2 separate regions of the Homo sapiens genome follow, and region 2 is linked to region 1. Evidence: promoter capture Hi-C in human tissues and cell types (Jung and others, 2019). All regions are on one chromosome and are shown on one strand. The core of a region is centred on a gene start or on the middle of the fragment in contact, and the rest is flanking DNA. Distances in the headings are between cores, read along the strand shown. Region 1 holds the start of SEPHS1 (selenophosphate synthetase 1). Region 2 has its middle 4.7 kb from the start of SUV39H2-DT.

Region 1 (3,556 bases), core at 572-3,071:
CTGAGGATGGTGGCCTCCCACCGACGCAGCGGGGATCGGCCTCTGTCCCGCCCAGCCACTTGATTTCCAAGTTCTGCAGAGCTCTGTCCAAGGTCTCTTTCACTTTTTTCCTGAGCTCTCCCTTCGGGGTTAATCTCACCTCTTACGGAGGCTTCGAACACCATTTACATGCTGATGGCACCCAGATTTGCATCTCTGAGCCCCATCCCCACACCAAATTCCGGACCTGTTTCCCTATTAACTTTGGTCTGGAATATCCGGCAGACCTGAGATTTGCAACTCTGAGCCCCACCCCCACACCATCCGGCAGACCTCAGATTTAACATTTCCAAAGCTGAACTCACCCCGAAACTTGTTTGCCTTTCAGCAGTTCTTAGATAAATTATTAGCATCGCTCCTCATTCCCTCCCCCACCCCCCACCCCCGCAAACTGGAAACCTGGGGGTCATCTTATCCTTCTTCCTCTCCTTCCTACGTGCTAAATCACACCAAATCCCTTCCCTGGGCTGCATTCCCCTTGCTTTCAGTTCAAGTACATCTCCGGGCTTGACTAGTACAATACCCTCTTAATGAGAACCGTGACCCTGTCTTCCCCTCTGGGAGAAGCCATCCTCCAGTGGCAGGCGCCTGTAATCCCAGCTACTGGGGAGGCTGAGGCAGGAGAATCACCTGAACCCAGGAGGCGGAGGTTGCAGTGAGCCGAGATCGCGCCACTGCACTCCAGCCTGGCGACAGAGTGGGACTCCGTCTCAAAATAAATAAATAAATAAATATAAAATAAAAGAATGCAGACTAACACGTTCTTTGCAAACTTACTACAGGGTATGAAGAAAGTACACAAAGACAGGAGCAGCCTGTCTTCGAGGTGGCATCACTTCTGCATCCAGCCCAGGATTAAAACCCGGAGCAACTGGCAAGCGGAAATGTTAACGAAAAGGGCATCTGCGTAGCGTGCCAACCTGCCGTGCCACGTAAAGCACGGTCCAGTGACCCAAAACATTTCTGCTCCCAAATAACATTTGGAAAATGCTGACCTACTGCCTAGAAAAGTTCGATCGGCATTCCTGCACACTGCTGTTTTAGAGAGAAGCCCTAAACGATATCTGAAAGTATTTGGTTTATTTTCATCAGCAATGCTTTAGAATCTCGAAAGCCCAGAAAAAAGTTATTTCACGACGTGAAGCTCCCCCCTCGATGTCAATTCGAACACATCCAGGGTTGCGGCTGCCATGTTCGCTCGAACATGTGCAGGACAAACAATGCAACCAGCGGGGAACCGTAAACCTTTTTCCTCGACTTCCTACCACGCACATGAAGTGTTCAAGAAACTTTGCAGGACGTCTCCACATTTCACGAGGCTCCCGTGAACTCCGGAGCCGAGCTAAACAATAGGAAGGACAGATGCTGGGAGTCCCCAAGCATCTAACGCGCCGTTTGTGTTTTCAAAAAACCTCTGCCTGGCGCCCAGGCGGCTTTTCCTGGGCTCCTAGCCTCCTGTGCAAATTGTTCCCATGGTCATTGTCTTCCAGGACGCTCCGCTGCGCACTCGGGGAGCGGGGACAGCGCCCCGCAGAGCGCCGCGCGGTCGAGCCCGGCCAGGTGGCGGAAACGTTCCCGGCCCTTGCAGCGGGGCCCGGGAAAAAGGTGGCCCGGGCGCCAAGGGCGGCTGCCAATGCAACTCGCAACTTTTGAAATCAATCCTTTTTTGCATCATGCAACGGATGCCACCGCTCCTCGGGTTTGCAACCCCCCACCCCTCCCCCGAGACCAATCATTGCCGCGCTCGGGGCTGCACGGCGCCCCCGCCCCCTTCCCGGGCCGCACGCCGCCACCCAGCAGCCAGGGCCGCCTCTTAAAGGGAGGTGGCCGGCCTTAAAGGACCCCCGCGCGCCCAGCCGGCGGGAGCGCGGCGGCCCGGCTCCCGCAGGGCCGCGCCGAGGCAGGCGAGCCCCCGCGGCGCCCAGGCGCGGGCCCGGGCCCCCGCCGCCGCCGCCGCCGCCGGGCGCGGCATTTTTATTCAGGCGACGCTTAAGGGAGCCCGGCCGCGCCCGGTGCATTGTGGGAGCGGCCCGCGGCCCGTTTTCGGGAGGAGGCGGAGGGCGCAAAGCGAGCCGGTAAGCGGCGGGCCCGGCGCGGGGGGGAGGCGCAGGCTTAAAGGGGAATCTGGGTCCGCAGGCCCGCGGCGGCCGTTGCAAATCCCCCTCCGGGCCGCCCGGGACCGCCGGGGAGCCGCGCGCCGCCGGCCCCGCCAGCCCTGCCTGGAGAGGGGCAGCGCCGGGCTTGGTGGGGCCGCTTTAAAAAAGAAGCGCCGCCCGCGCCGCCGCCGCCGCCGCGCGGGGCCGGGGAAGGAGGGAGGGAGGGCGGGGAGGAGCGGAGGGGAGGGCGGCGGCGGCCACGCAGGGGTTAATTTTTTCGCCCGCCGACATTTTTGCGCGGCGGCGGCGGCGGCCCGTGCGCGCGGCGGGAGCGGCCGGCCTGGGGTCGCGGGGTGCCTCCGGGGCCTCCCCGCCTCCCCTTTTCTCCGCGCGGGCCCTGTCGACCCGGGGCGGGTGCGTCCCGGCGTCCTCCCCGGCTCCTGGGCCGCACGCGCGGTGCCCGCCGGCTCCCGCCGCCTCCCGCCGGCCCGAACAGGGATGGCCCGGCCGGGGCCCCGAGCTGCCGCCTCCGCCCCGCCGCCGGCCCGCAGCCCGGGCCTGCTGGGCCTTCCGAGGCGGCGGCGAGGGCCTGAGCCTGAGCCTGAGCCCGAAGGTGTCCCCGGGTTCCTTGCTCCCCTCCCCGGCCGCCTCCGACGCGGGCGTCCTGGAGAGCGCGCCCCATTGTGCGGGGCCGGCGGGGAGGTAGGTCCGGGGTTGGCGGGGCAGCGCGCCGGGCCCACCCCGCTGACCGGCTCCCCGGCTCCCCACGCTCGTTGGAAGAAAAAAAAAAACCAAACCATGGAAATGTGCCCGGGAAGGAAAGGGCTAAACGTTGCTTTAAATATTCATGCCATTGTTTTAAAGGCGTAAACATGTGGCTGCGGGGTCGCCGGGCACCGTCCCTTATTAATGCAAATGGATCCCCCTGGTTCCCTAATCACTGCACATTTCCCCCAGAACCCCCTCCCCCTTCCCATGCCCTCCAAAAATGTAAGAATCTAGTACTTTTTTCATTAGGATGTGAGGCTGATTTGTGTCCTTAGTACCATTTGGAATTTTAAATCTGAGCGCCTTCCTGATACAAGGTGTTTTAAACTTTTTTCCACCCTTAAAACTCTTGAGAAGATAGTAATTTAAAAGGAAGTGATAGCCACACAATTCCCCTCCCCACCTTTTTGGGAGCCAGGAGAGGAATAGATAGGAGGTAGGAAAATAACTGGATGCCTCGTGAGTTGGATTTTTTCTTTTTCTTTTTTTTTTCCTGGTAGGGGTGAGGCTGTGTTAAATGCGAGGTGTTTTTTGAGGAAAGGACTTTGTTGTTTTTGTTGAAAACGCCTTCCAAGTCAAAGTGGTATTCAAACTTTCCCATAACTCTAAGATGGCTTCAAAATTCTCGTCTCTTGTCACTTGCGGCCAGCGCC
Region 2 (3,556 bases), core at 361-2,860, 1.5 Mb before region 1:
AACCCCAGATACCACCCTTGCCACTAATTTTTTGTCTTAGAAAAATTATTTCTCATAAAAAATTAACTTTATTACTTAGAAATAATTTTTAAAATTGGTTTTAATTTCCATATGGTAACTATAGTTATATAACTACATTTTATGTATATGTAACAAACAAAAGCTCTATGGGTTCTCAACATGTTATTTTTTAAGACTATAAAGGGTTCCTGGGACTAAAATGTTTGAGGGTGTTGGTAAATCCTGGCTATAAATGGAGAGAGAAATAAAAAGCCACTGAGAGACACACACCAGGGTCCTCAAGGGAAAAGTAGAGAATCATGACCCTTTCCCAGTATTTTTTTCACAAAGACCACATGATTTCTGGAGTGTCTCCTCTTCTACTGAAATAAACGTTCTCTTCTGAGAGGCAAAGAATCATAGAATGAACACTAGATTAAGAATGTGAATTTAAATGAAATAATCCATGTAATGTGCTTAAAATAGTAAGCAGTCAAGAAAAATTAAGTTTACAAAATAAGCATCTGAATGTTAGTTCAAAATCCACCATTTATTCACTGTGAGACCTTGGATACTTTATTTAACTGCTGTGAATCTATTATCTGGAAAACAGAAATAACCAAGGCCATATTACTCTCTACATAGTACAACTACTCGTGGAATTGTGATGAGATCAAAATTTTAAAATGAGATAATGAATTAAAGCAAATAACAGTATTATATGGTCACTCATTATCATTTTAGATATTGTGATTTTTCCCATAGAACTTTTATGCTAGGATACTTTTAAGAATTCTTATACATATAAAAGCTTTCAGTTTGTGATGAATATTTTGTGACCTCCTGTTAAGGACTGAACGTTTTCATCTCTGAAAAATTCCAGTGTTGAAATCCTCGCCCCCAAAGTGATTATATTGGGAGGTGGGGCCTTTGGGAGGTGATTAAATCATGAAGGTGGAGGCTGCATGCATGGGATTGACACCCTTACAAGAGGGACCCTTCAGAGCTCTCTCGCCCTCTATCCTCCGTGTGAGGTTATAAGGATAGCTGGCAACCCAAAAGGGAGCCCTCATCAGAACCCGGCCCCGCTTCCAGCCTGGTCCAGCACCCGAACTGACTTCCAGCCTCCAGAACTATGATACATTTCTGATGTTTACAAGCCACCCCCCAGACTATGGTACTTTATTATAGCAGTCCAAACTAAGACACGTTCCAAGACTTTCACATCATAGGTATTTCTTCCTATTTTTATATTTGGCTCTGTTCTTCAGACAATGTCAGATGTAAATAGGCAAAACTATAATTTGACATAAGCTTTTAGTGGTAAAAGTGTTTAAGTTTAAATATGTATATATTTACTATCTGGCCTTTTATATAAAAAACTTGACCCGAGGTAGATTATTGAAACTTCCACAATAAAATGACTTCTTCAAAACTTTTCTTCCATATTTATGTAATACTTCACTTACTTGACTACTTTCCCCACATTTAAATATATACATATTTAAACTTCATGAAATATATTTACATTTCATGAGTATAAATTGCATGTATCTCATGTACATCCCAATTATCTTTGCTACGACATACATATAACAAAGATAACTAGGATGTACATGAAAAGATTATCAAGGTACTCACCAAAAATCTTTATAGTTACTATTCTGGATGGTAGAATAAAGAATGTTTTATATTTTTTTCTTTTGGAATTTGAATTTTATATTGACTATGTATCATTCTTACAAACAAAAAATTTAAAGCTATTTTCACCTTGAAAAATAAAAAAACACTAGAAAATTTTGTCAGCAAATCTTTCAAAAATTCACAAGGAAAAAACTTATCACCTGAGGGTACGAAAAAATGTGGAAGAATTTCATTAGGCAGTAGAGGACTTATTGATGACAATTTCAAATTTGATAAGTCTAGGGGAAAACAACCAAACAAACATGCAAAGCTGACCAATAAAGTCAGCAGTGCTATTCCTTTCCTTCCTTATGTTTCTAAACAAACCATAAAATATACAACAGATGTACTACTCACTGGCCATTGTCCTGTAGCATACAAACATGACATTATTTTTTCTTCCACATAATTCATTTATTTGATAAGCACTTAGGAACACCCACTATGCTCACGTACTGTTGTAGGGGCTGAGGCAAAATGGTGACTAAGACTGAGAGTATCTGCTCTCACAATGCTTAATAATCTAGTGGGGAAAGGAGCCAATAAGTAAAGCATTACATAAATATAGCAGAAAACTTTAGAAGAAGTTATTTTATTCTATAAGTTTCAATAATGTACTTTAGGTGTCAAATTTTTTATGTAGAAGGCCAGACAGTAAATATTTTAAGCTTTGTGGGCCACACAGCCTTTGTGCAACTATTCATCTCTGCCACTCTAATGTGAAAACCGCCACAGCCAGCCCATATACAATTAGAGTGTGACTGTGTTCTAATAAAATTTTATCTATGAAAACAGGGGTGAGATAGATCTGACTCACTGGCCATAGTTTGGCACCCCAGATCTATTTTAAAAGCTAACAATAACCACAAAATAAAATCCTAAAAGTTTTTCAAAGCATAATTGAAAGCATGTAGACCTAGCAGTAGAACTAGTTCAGTTGGTGTTTTCCTGTGTTCTGAAGCCACTGAATTGCTTATACCAAAATCACTTTTATTTCAAATTTTCTATGACTTTGGAAAAAGATCCTAAGAAATAACTAATAACTTAGGACAAAGAGTACACCTTTAAAGCTGCTTCTGTATTTAAAGACTCTGTGGACTTAAAATCATATCTGAATTCTCTTCATGGTTCTGTCAATAATTTGATGCAAAATAATGATGAAAAAATTTAAGTTTGGTTTCTGGATCTTTAAAAACTTTTAGAAGGGTACTACCAACTAACTCCATAGCAGCCAACATGAATAAGTTTTCACTGGAACCCACTGAGGATCTCAGGGCTCTAGTGAATATTCTCTGGTAAACAGAATGTGGCTAGCCTTCTCTTCAAACTAAAGAGATTTTTTTTTTCTTTTTTTGAGATGGAGTATCACTCTGTCACCCAGGCTGCAGTGCAGTGGCGTGATCTCGGCTCACTGCAACCTCTGCCTCCTGGGATCAAGGGATTCAGTCTCAGGAGTTGCTAAGACTACAGGCGCACACCACCACGCCCAACTAATTTTTTGTATTTTTAGTAGAGATGGGGTTTCACCACGTTGGCCAGGCTGGTCTGGAACTCCTAGCCTCAAGTGATCCTCCCATCTCTGCCTCCCAAAGTGCTGGAATTACAGGTGTAAGCCACCGTGCCCAGCCCTAAAGAGATCTTTTAATTTCAAAAGAAAAACATGTTTGTTGGAAGAAATAAACTAAACAAAACTGTAAAAAGTAAAAGCCCCTCTCCTAGTTGTTGAGTTTATCAGTTTACTTAAAAAATGGCTGTCGCTTATGCCTGTAATCCCAGCACTTTGTGGGGCTAAGGCGGGAGGACTGCTTGAGACCAGCAGTTTGGGACCATCCTGGGCAACATAGCAAGACCCGTCTCTCCAAAAAAAAAAAAA

Evidence for each region. The method cuts DNA at HindIII sites, captures the fragments that hold promoters and counts their contacts. A contact is called where the count stands out against the background at its distance.
Region 2: a fragment that was not itself captured here is called in contact with the fragment with the promoter of SEPHS1 in region 1 in 1 of the 25 tissues and cell types used here (dorsolateral prefrontal cortex).

What each region holds. Positions count from the first base shown.
Region 1 is chr10:13,346,558-13,350,113 of GRCh38, reverse strand. It overlaps SEPHS1 (selenophosphate synthetase 1), which reads left to right and starts at 1,821. Exons shown (of 9, transcript NM_012247.5): 1 at 1,821-2,114. RefSeq lists enhancers at 54-845, 846-1,636 and silencers at 1,706-1,925, 2,056-2,885. The HindIII fragment of the contact is 27,088 bases long and covers 1-3,556 here.
Region 2 is chr10:14,872,166-14,875,721 of GRCh38, reverse strand. It overlaps a transcript of SUV39H2-DT not described here. Among named protein-coding and RNA genes, the nearest start is that of SUV39H2-DT, 4.7 kb to the left of the region's middle. The HindIII fragment of the contact is 4,340 bases long and covers 1-3,556 here.